Regions from separate parts of the Homo sapiens genome. Here region 1 is linked to region 2. Evidence: promoter capture Hi-C in human tissues and cell types (Jung and others, 2019). All regions are on one chromosome and are shown on one strand. Each heading gives the region's core, a stretch centred on a gene start or on the middle of the fragment in contact. The rest is flanking DNA. Distances are from core to core; before and after follow the strand shown.

Region 1 (5,754 bases), core at 1,767-4,266, 260 kb before region 2:
TGTGATAATCACACACTGGCCCAGATTCAGGGGAAGGGAATGCAGAGCCCACCTCTCAACAGAGACCTAGAAACGCCCAAATGGCAGTCCCACTTTGCTCCCCCAAAGCACTCCCTCAACAGGAGGGGTGTCAACACCACACTGGAAGAAGATCACGTGGAATGGGGGATCTTGTGGACATTTCACAGTGTTATGGTAAACACAGGCAAAGACAAGAAGGCAAGCACAGATAAGTTGATCGTGGCTCAGTTCTTTGAAGGAGATTAATAGGCTTTTGTGGGGATGCAGGGGGAGCTTTCTTTCTGCACTAGTCAGGAAGCCTCTCTGGAGCTGAGACCAGAAAGCTCTACTGTCATGGGAAGAGGCACCAGGCAAAAGAGACAGCAAGGACCCATGCCTGGAGGCCAGAAAGGGTGCAGGCTGGAAGGCCAGGCAGACTTGGGCTCGAATCCTGCCCAGTCATTATTTTCCCTCTGGCAAGGCACTTTACGTTGGTGGGGAAAAGTGATTCTTTTAAAAAGGAGAGTGTAATTCCAAATCACCTGAGTCCATGAGATGACTAATGTGCTGTCTTCATCCTAGTGCCTGGCTCACATGTGGGTTACAGCTTTTTTACCCTTCTCCCTGGTTTTTGTTTTTAAACGGCTGGGTGGTACTACGTTTATAGGCTTGGAGAGTTTCCTCCAAAGTGAAATCAATACTGCCAGCCCTACTTTATCGGGAGGGCGGTGATTTCCAAATTGCACAGAACAAATGCCTGTAATATCTGCATTTCAGAGACTAGAGCCTGTCACCGCTGGAGTAACTGACTGCAGGAGATGAGAGAGGGTCAGTTGGAGGTGGGGGTCTTGGAACTGCAAGGGAGCGGAGTGTACACTGGCCAAAGGTGGAAGGTGCTGACCAGTAACTGCTTGGAAGCAACCACCGTGTTTCAATAGGATCTCAGTTGCAATCCACTGCTTGTGTGAAGGAGGGCTGCTGATTCAGCAGCAAAATGGTTGGAAATAAAATGGAAGAAATGAAAAGTAGAACATACGAGTGGTGGCAATGTTTATTTCAACAGGCAGAGGGCTGGGTGTCTCCATGCAGGAATCCATGACCCTCCCTGGGGGGCTGGCTTCCAATAACATTACTTCCCACTTCCCGAGCGCTTACTGAGTGCTGGGCGCCTAGCTTTTGAATTCCCACGGTAACCCTATGGGAACTCTGCCATCTCCATTTTACAGATGAGAAAACTGAGCTCAGGGACATTAGGTGACTGCCCAAAGCCATACTGCTGGTGGGCCCCGGAGCCAAGGTTTCGACCCGAATCTCTTGAGGACAAGGTGCAGTTCCTTTGGCCCACACATTTACAACAGAGAAATTTCCATGGACATGAAACAGCCCAGAGATATTATTTCATACCCATTTAGATGAACAAAGTAAAATAAATGGAAAGAAAATCAGAAGTTTGAGGACACCAGTGCTGGCCAGGAAATAGAGAACCACAAACCCAGGCACACTGAAGGGTGAGAGGTCAGTTGCTCCAGGTGTTTGGAAAGCAATTTGGCAGCTTCCAATAAAGTCCAAGACGTAGCTGGTCCAATGATGCCACCGCAGACATTTAGAGAACTTCTGTAGAGGGGCACAGGGAGACAGCGCTAGAAAGCTCAATGAATCACTGTAACTGCACAAAACAAAACAAAGCCGACCGCCCTAAATGTTCCTCATTGACAGTGGGTGTATGAGGAGGTGACTGTCCTCCTGGCTGCTGGTACTCTGGGGAGGGAGCTTTGGTGCCCAAGGCAAGAGACTGAGGTTGAACTCTGGGACTCCCAGGAGGGGCTGATTTTTCTGAGAGCCCCGTGAGCCAAGAGTGGGGACCATCCTGATTCTCTCGGACAGGGGAAGATCTGAGCAGGGCTCCTGGCTGATTGGAGGCTCCGAATCGCACCTCTTCTCCTGTCCTAATCTCAGGCTCCAGGCCTGGCTTGCAGTTTCTGGCTCACCGCGCTGCGGTCACCGGCCCACACTCCCAGGAGCGAGGACCCTGGGCAGCCTCCACACCCCCATCAGCCCACTGCACCGGTCTGCTGCCATTTCCCGCACGCATTTCAGGAGGGCTGGGGACGCCGGCTTCTGCCTGAGGATTTATGGTCCAGGAAATGCATTTTAAATGGATCCCAGGATGCTCGGATCCAAGAATCAGACTCTCTCTTGTGCGTGGGAAGAGGGGCGGAGGGTGAGAGTATGTCTGGAGAGAGACCTAGAAACGCCCGAATGGCGGTCCCACTTTGCTCCCCAAAAGCGCGACCGTTCCCCGAGTGGGGGGGCGCTACCTGTTGGCCAGGGCGCAGGGCGCACGGAATTCGGGTGACTTTGCTCCAAGATACACGCGTGTGTCCCGACTCTCACTCAATTTATAGGGGAGAGGGACTCGCCAAATCCCTGTTTTCTGGGGTAAGCCCCCCTCCCCCCACTCTTGGACCCAAGCTGCCCGGAAGGAAGAAGGAAGCATTGTTTGTCACCGGAGAAAACCACCTGTGGTTTGCAAAGGGCCTCAGTCGAGTCAGGGGCAGGCGGGGCAGATCCGAGCCCGGCGGGAGGGGCGAGGCGCGGGGGCGGGCAGGGGCGAGGGTAGGGGCGCTCAGCTGGCAGGTCCTGCTCTGCAGGCCTCACCGCCCAGCTCCCGGGAGGGGGCCGAGGGCGCCCTGAGTGCTGCGCGCCTTCCCATGACGCAGTTCCTGTGCCTTTAAATCCCACTCCCGGAGGGGGCGGGGGCGCCCCGGCTGGACCCCGGTTTCCAGTCCGGCGGGGGCCCCGGGGAAGCCCAGGGCGGGGAGCGCGGGGCTGGGGGCGCGGAGGGCGGGGCGCCCGGGGTCCCCGCCCGCGCGCCGCGCCCTAGCCTGCTGGGCCGCGCCCCTCTTGGGACCGCCGCGCTCCGGGGGCGGGGGCGGGGGCGGGGGCGGGGGGCGGGGGGCGGGGGGCGGGCGGGGGCGCGCGGGCGGGCGGGGTGCGGGCGCGCGCCGCGCGGCCCGAGCGCGCGAGCCGGGCCCGGAGCGCACGCCGCCGCCGCCACCGCCGCCGCCGCCGCCCGAGCCGCCGCATTGCTGCTGCTGCTGCCGCCGCCGCCCCGCGCCCGGCCCGCGGCCCCCAATATGGTGCAGCCGCCAGCGCCGCCGCCCGTGCCGCCGCCGCCGCCCGCGGGCCCCGCCGCCGCCCTCGGGCGCCCGCAGCGCGGCAGCCGCAGGTGGGGGGCCGCGGCCCGGGCCTGAGCTGCCCCCCGCCCGGCCTCGGCGCGGCGCCCTCCCCGCGGGGCTGCCGGCGAGGGGCCCTCTCGCCGCTGAGGTGGAGCCGCGGGCCCCGCCGCCGCCGCTCCTGCCCCCTCCCTCCCTCCTCCCCTCCCCCTCCCCTCCGGTCCTGTCTCCAGCGGGAGCGCGAGACGCTGGTCAGGCTCCGCGGCGCAGCTCGAAAAGGAATAATCGCCCCCGATTGACTGAAATTCCTCCGGAGCCGGCGCCGCGGCCGCCCGCGCCCGAGACCGCGCTCCGGGGCCGCGTCCTCCTCTCCTCCGGAAAACGCTCGCGACCCAGGGCCGCCGGCGGCCGCGACTCTGCTGTGTCGATCGCCTGAGTCCGTTTTCACCGTTTGCGGGATCTGGAACCGAGTTACATGCATGTCCAGTGGGGGCAGGTTTAATTTTGACGACGGAGGGTCCTACTGTGGAGGCTGGGAGGACGGCAAGGCGCACGGCCATGGCGTCTGCACCGGCCCCAAGGGCCAAGGCGAATACACCGGCTCGTGGAGCCACGGCTTCGAGGTGCTGGGCGTCTACACCTGGCCCAGCGGCAACACGTACCAGGGCACCTGGGCGCAGGGCAAGCGCCACGGCATCGGCCTGGAGAGCAAGGGGAAGTGGGTGTACAAGGGCGAGTGGACGCACGGATTCAAGGGGCGCTACGGGGTGCGGGAGTGCGCGGGCAACGGGGCCAAATACGAAGGGACCTGGAGCAACGGGCTGCAGGACGGCTACGGGACCGAGACCTACTCGGACGGAGGTAGGTGCCGCGGGCCGGGCCGGGCCGGGGCGGGAGGGACGTGCTTCCGATCGCGCCCCTTCTGTGGATCTCTGGGGAAGTTGAGCTGCGTCCTCCGGTTGGGCCGTGGGCACCAGGGGCCTTTCCCGGGCTTCCCTGGAAGCCACGGCGGCTCCTGGCTACAGGTTGCCCCGCTGCCTGGTGGGGACAGTGCCCCTGTGCCAGCTGAAGGGTGTTGGGGGCTTTCCAGGGGCAGAGCCAGGCGGGGCCCAGCAGAGCCTCCGTGCGTCGGACACAGCAGGCCGGAGACCTGCGGGAAGGGCCAGGCTGGGCCCGCGGCCCTGGGGAACCCAGCAAGGGCAGAGGGGGCTGGGAGAAGGGCCCCTCCCCTTGTTGGCTTTGCCCCCCACCCTGGAGGCCGCCCTTCGATCAGGCCCCAGCTTCGCTTCTGGTGTTCCTGCGGCGCCCGAGGGCCTTCCTCAGCCCCGAATCTGCCCAAGCCGAGAGAAAGGGAGTGATGGGGAGCGCTAGGGGCGGGGGATGCCAACCCGAACCAAAACAGCCAGGCAGTACACTTCTAGGTGGTTGGACGCGGACTAGCGCTGTCGAAGCAGGCTGCTGGAGGGAGGAGGGAGGCCCATCTGCTCAGTGAGAGCCCAGGAATCTCGTCTTTCAGTGGCTGCATCGTTTTCACCATTAGTTGAGGGAATCGATCTGTGCCTTCATTCTAAGATGCCACCGCATTCGGGGCAGAGCCGGGGCCGGAAGCCAGGGAGCTGCCTGCTGCTGCTGCTGCTGCTGCTGCTGCTGCTGCTGCTGCTGTAAGATGGTTTCTGTGCAGGGAACCTTGGCCGGCTCTGCAGCTGCCCGCCTGCCTGGACTCTCCGATATCCACTCCTCAGTGCACCTGACACGCATGGAGCCGGTCCTTTCCTGGAAGCCAGACCCCAAACAAACTGGCTTCCCCGACCAGTCCACTCCCATGTGGGAGCTTATCCTCAGAGGCACTGGGTCCTCTGCCTCCCTCGGGCGGCTCGCCTGTTTCAGGCATGGATGCCTGGGAAGGGAGTGAGACGCAGCAATGACTTGTGCTTCTGCCGAGAATAAAAATCCTGAGCGTACGTGTGCTCTAGTCCTCCCCGCCCGCTCGCTGCCTCCGAGTCTCATGAAGAAAGCTCGGAACACCTGCTCCACGGCCACATCCAGGAGTGGCAGGGGGCTGGAGAGTAATTATTATTTTGGCTTATGCAACTGAAAAGCAGGGTTCGTTATTACCCGAAGAGGAGGAGGAGTCTGGGGCAGTTAATTATATAATGCTCCTGCCTGTCAAAGCCGTGCCCAGCCCCGGTCTCAGGCGGCCTTTTCTGTGCCGTTGTTGTTTTCATGGAGCAGGTTGGAGAGCTTCCCTGACCCTGGGGCGCTGAGGGCCGGGCGGGAGCAGACGGTGCTCCCTTGGTTCCAGGCTGTGGGCCTGTGTGTGTGTGTGCGCGCGCGTGCAGGCACAGGGAGGCCCGGGCAGCAGATGTGGGTGGCTGAGACAGGCAGGCAGCCTGGCGCTTCCAGCTGGGCTGTTTGGAGCCCAGGGGCTGCTATCACCCCCAGGCTCTGGCCAGGAGGCTCTGCAGACCTGTCCTCCAGAGGTGCTCCTGGCTGAGCCTGCTCCAGGAGGACTGTGCAGGCCGGGCTCACGCAGGGCATGGGGACGAGAGGAGCCAGGGCTTTCGTTGTCTCTGAAACT
Region 2 (5,112 bases), core at 394-2,893:
GCTCTGGCCACTTGACTGGGATTTTCAATCCCGGCTGTCAAAGAGAAGCACCAAGTCCACTTGGGCTCCTGGCCAGCGTCCAAGCCAGTCCAACTCAACAGCAAGCGGAAGCAAATACCACACAATGAACTCGTTGAACAGACTCTGCGCTCAGGCTTAACCAGTGCACAGCCTGTACACCCGACAGGAGGATGCAGCTGTTCCAAGCTAAGGCCAGGGCCTCTCCCCAATCCCGATGGGCTCTGCAGATGCAGTGATGGAAGAATCCCTGGTGACGGGGAGCCCTTAGCTCTGAGCAGGACCTGAAGCCATCTCAGGGCTTGCACCGGCCCAGATGCTGCTGCACAAGTGCTCCAGGGGCTCCTGCCCTGCCCTCCTCACCTGCCCCCTCACCTGTCAGGGATGTTTGATTCCTGGCTGGCCCCTCCCCTACCTGACCCCTGCCAAAGACCCACGTCACCCCAGGCTTCCAGCTCTGAAGCAAACGACCAGAGAAGTCAAGCGCCTGGCTCCGGGCCACACAGCTTGAGGGACTCAGAGCTCCAGGGACAGTGCCCGGGCCCTGCTCAGGCCTTCTGCAGAGGCCCTGGGCTCTTCCAGTTGACTCAGCTCACAAGGCCCCTACACGGTAGCAGGTGAAGACAGGGCCCCAAGAACCCTCAGGCTCTGAAGCCACACATGAGAGCCGTGGACAGAATCCTGCATTGGCCTCCAGCAGCTCGAGAGCACAGGGACAAAGCTGGACTGGCCCCGGGGTCACCATGGCCTTGGTTTTGTAGCAGCTGCAGTTTGAGCACGTACACCAAAAATAAAATTCTAAGCCCCGTAACTGACTAAAGGGACCCCTCCTATTGCCAAAGGGATATTCCAAAGTTAACCTGAAAAACGAGCTCAGGTCACGATGGGAAGAGGGGGTCACACAGGCCTTGTTATACCCCCTCCCTCTGGAATTCAGGTACAGCGGACCAGCACTAACACTCAAACACAGATCTTGGCCTGGCTCAGTGGCTCATGCCTGTAATCCCAGCACTTTGGGAGGCTGAGGTGGGCAGATCACGAGGTCAGGAGTTCGAGACCAGCCCGACCAACATGGAGAAACCCCATCTCTACTAAAAATACAAAATTAGCCAGGCATGGTGGCGGCAGGCACCTGCAATCCCAGCTACTTGCGAGGCTGAGGCAGGAGAATCGCTTGAACCGGGTTGCAGTGAGCTGAGATCATGCCACTGCACTCCAGCCTGGGTGACAAAAACAAAACAAAACAAAACAAAACAAAACACAATATTCGTCTCCACAACCTCCTGTCTTACCCAGATACTCCTTTCTATTGATACCAGGTCTTTAGCTAATAACTCTTTCAACCAATTGTGAATCAGAAAATCTTTTGCCAGGCACGGTGGCTCACACCTGTAATCCCAGCACTTTGGGAAGCCAAGGTGGGCGGATCACCTGAGATCAAGAGTTCGAAACCAGCCTGACCAACATGGTGAAACCCCCGTCTCTACTAAAAACACAAAATTAGCTGGGCATGGTGGTGCATGCCTGTAGTCCCAGCTACTCGGGAAGCTAAGGCAGGAGAATCACTTGAACCCAGGAGGCGGAGGTTGCAGTGAACTGAGATCATACCACTGCACTCCAGCCCGAGTAACAAAAGCATCTCAAAAAAAAAAAAAAATACACACACACACACACACACACACACACACACACACACACACACACACACACACACACATATATATATAAAGAAAAAGGAAATCTTCGAACCCACCTGTGACCAGGAAGCCCATCCCCGCCTTGGAGTTGTCCCGCCTTTCTCGGCAGAACCAACAAATACCTTTCATGTACTGACTGATGTCTGCCTGTAACTTCTGTCCTTGTAGGAGGTATGAACTCCAGCTGTGGCCCACCCCCTGGGGCACATGTCCTCAGGGCCTCCAGGCCTTGGTCCTCACATTTGACTCCGGATAAATCTCTTCAAACATTTTACAGAGTCTGGCTTTCTCGTTAACAAGCAGCTCACACATACAGTGTCTCAGTAGTGACAGATGCTGGCCCACCCCGAGGTCAGGATGACTCAGCAGGGATCGAGTTTGCGGGCGTCACGCTCCAAGGCCCAGAATAGGAGGTCGGTGCTCATTCCTCACGTAGTGGGCAAATCCTAGGGCAGGGGAGGGGCGGGCAATGCCAGAGAACGGTCCCCACCTGGGGTGGTCTGACGGCCAGGGATGCAGGGAGAGACGCCTCCCACACTCCCGGAGGCACGCACGTGCTGTGGCCACCCCGGAGGGTCCGCCTTCCAGAGGGAGAATTCAGGATTCGGCCAGTATCAGGGAAGGAGACGCTGTGGGGGGCCCTCCTGTTGGAAAAGGGCAGCAGCGGGAAGAGGGTGCTGCCACAGGGCCTCTGGGGAGCGTGCGGGCACACAGTACCAATCTGCATGCATACACGTGTCCTGTCCCTGCAGACGGGCCAGGCAAGGCCTGCCCATGGCCAGCTATCCAGGTGATGCTCCAGGGAGGGCCAGGCCTACTGGGGGGCAGAACCCTGTGGCTGTCCAGGGTACCTGGATGTGAGTCTGGGAAGGATGGAGAAGGGTGGAGGAGCGCAAAGGGCCCCTAGGGGATGCTGGGGAACACAGATGAGCCTCTGACCCACCTGTGTCCTTACCTGGGCCGACTGGGCCACCCAGTCTTGCTGACTGACACCTCCCCAGACCCCTGGCACCCACCAGACTCCCCAGGCGTGGCTTTGTGCTCCCCTATGCCTGATGACAAATGGTGGCCTCAGTGTAGAGGTGGGCACTGTGGCCCCTGGCTCCTGGCTCGCTCCTGCCTCAGTTTCCCCAGCTGTAAATTGGGGATTATCACTGGCTTCAAAGGCTGGAGTGCAAAGTGGTGGCCAAGAGGTGGCCAAGAGGTGCCAAGAGGTGGTCCAAGAGTGTGCCCTACCTTGGACACCCCTCTCCTGGGGGTGGCTCTCAACCTGGCCTGGGCCCCCGGGGGTCTGCGCAACCCACCCTTCTGTGTGAAGGCGGCTGATACACATTTCTGGGCAAGATTCTGCACATTCTGCTGGATTATGAAAGAGGTCTGTGACCCAAGAAAAAAGGGTCACAAGTGCCCGTTAGGCTCTCCTGTGTGGCTCAGGTCATGTGCTTCTGTGAGCTCCCCCTACGGCCTTGCCCCGAATCCCGTGATGCAGCGTGACCTGCCTAGGTGCCGGCGGCACTTTCATGTGCGGCTGGGAAAGTCAGATTTCAGCACTAATCACTGGCTGCCGCCTGCAATGAGCCCACGGCTTGAGCTCTGGGGCCCACCCAGCTCCTTAAACACGCAGAACCTTTGCCAGCTGAGCCAGGATCCCAGCTGTGGGGGGTTGGGGGTGGAGGGGTGCAGGGATCCCAAAACCCAACCCGGGGCCAGGTTTTACACAGGCCTGGACTGAGAAGTGGGGCTACAGGCTACAGGTGCTTGATACCCCAGGGGGGCCCTGGAACAGGCCTGGACTGAGAAGCGGGGCTACAGGTTACAGGTGCTGGATACCCCAGCGGTTGGGGGGGTGGTGCTGGACACCCAGGGGGCAGATAGAGGCAGCCAGGCAGCCTGAAGACCCTGGGGCAAAACACACACAGGCCCCCTCTGCTCTCTGGTCACTGCTAACTGGCCAACTGGCCTTTGAGTCCACTGACCACAGCTAAGCCCACAGCCATCAAAACCCACCCCTTACACCCTTCACCCTTTAGGGAGGGGCTCAGAGACAGTTGTGGCGATTCCTACTTCCACCCATAGCCCCCCGACCCTGGGCCTGTGCCGAGCGTGGGTGGGTGACATCATCTCGCACCCAGAGCTCCAGACTAAAGGAAACCCTGGCTCCTGTCTCTGGCTCTTCCCTCCCTCTCTTTGTTCCCTTGCTCCTTCCTTCTTTTGCCAGAGGAGAAGACAGTGAGGCTGAGGGCTGCTCCATGTGCACAGTGAGCAGGAGATACAGGCACGTGGAGGGACGGTCACAGCCCGTGCAACTGGCACCTTCACACGCAGAGGCCTGGGATTCCCAGACACCTGGCGCTGGGGCCAATCCCATTCCACAGTCAGAAACAGGCTCGGCGGGGCCAGGTGGATTTCTCAAAGCCTTGGTTGCTTTTGGCCTGATGCTAGCTGGACAGTGTCTCAGCTCACAGGTTCCTAAACGCATACCCGCCCACACCAATCTGCTGAGGAGTGACAGCCATGGGGAGGAGAGCCACCTCACTCCAGGGACCCTGGCACCGTCTCCCATGAGGCCAGGTGTCCTCAGCCACCCGCAGCCAGAGTCCCGCGAGACCGACGGACGGCCTGCCCCTGCGTGACGGCACGCCTGGGACTGTCTCAGCAGCCCCCCATGCTTCACCCAACTGGGACAGGGAAACAGGAGGGGGCTACTTCTGCTTTCAAGGCATGGAGGAGCTGTCTGCAGGCCACTTCCCGAACACCTATGCGCTTGGAGAAGTGACTGAGACTGAGCCAGGGTATCTTCTCCACGATGCAGTGAGCCCATCGGGCCCTTCTTCTGAGAGCACCTCCCTGGAGGTGGAAGCCCCTGAGGCCCACAGCATCTTCTGAACCTGTGAGTTCCCACTTACTGAGAACTCGCCTGGATCAGTGCCGGGCCACAGTGGACCGGGACTTTGAGTGGATGCTACCCTACTCGCTATGCAGAGCCAGCTGGGGCCCAGGGAGGTCAGATAAACTGCCCAAACCAAATCCAGGCCCAGCCAGAATCTCAGCTCCAGCCTTTGCGCCTTCTGATAAAACCCAGCATCGCTTGAATTTCCAGTACACGCTGCCAAGTCTTCGTTAAGCAATAAATAACCACACAACCCTACTGTCATGCCAAGTTCCATATGGCCATCCAGAAAGAGACACATGGAGCTGGTTCCTCTCACCTTTATGACCAGTGAAAAGCGCACCAACACGAAGACACGCGTGAAAGGACCTCATCTCCTACCCAGACTGACAAGCAAGGGATTTTTTTCACTCACCGTCAGTGGGATGGTTCTAAGCACCGAGGCCAACCCATTTCACACGATTATTTCACAAAAAGAAACCTTCTGTGGGACGTGCCTGGGCGACT

The links. Contacts are between HindIII fragments. The study calls those that stand out against the background at their distance.
Region 1: a contact is called between the fragment with the promoter of JPH3 here and a fragment that was not itself captured in region 2, in 1 of the 25 tissues and cell types used here (H1 embryonic stem cells).

The regions. Positions count from the first base shown.
Region 1 is chr16:87,599,492-87,605,245 of GRCh38, forward strand. It overlaps JPH3 (junctophilin 3), which reads left to right and starts at 3,017. Exons shown (of 5, transcript NM_020655.4): 1 at 3,017-4,037. The coding sequence starts at 3,656. It overlaps LOC124903750 (a long non-coding RNA gene), which reads right to left and starts at 2,692. Exons shown (of 2, transcript XR_007065172.1): 1 at 2,521-2,692; 2 at 1,034-1,614. RefSeq lists an enhancer at 1,556-2,118. The HindIII fragment of the contact is 15,663 bases long and covers 1-5,754 here.
Region 2 is chr16:87,858,666-87,863,777 of GRCh38, forward strand. All of the region lies in intron 1 of SLC7A5 (solute carrier family 7 member 5), which reads right to left. Among named protein-coding and RNA genes, the nearest start is that of MIR11401, 7.3 kb to the left of the region's middle. RefSeq lists enhancers at 1,840-2,597, 3,356-4,113. The HindIII fragment of the contact is 9,544 bases long and covers 1-5,112 here.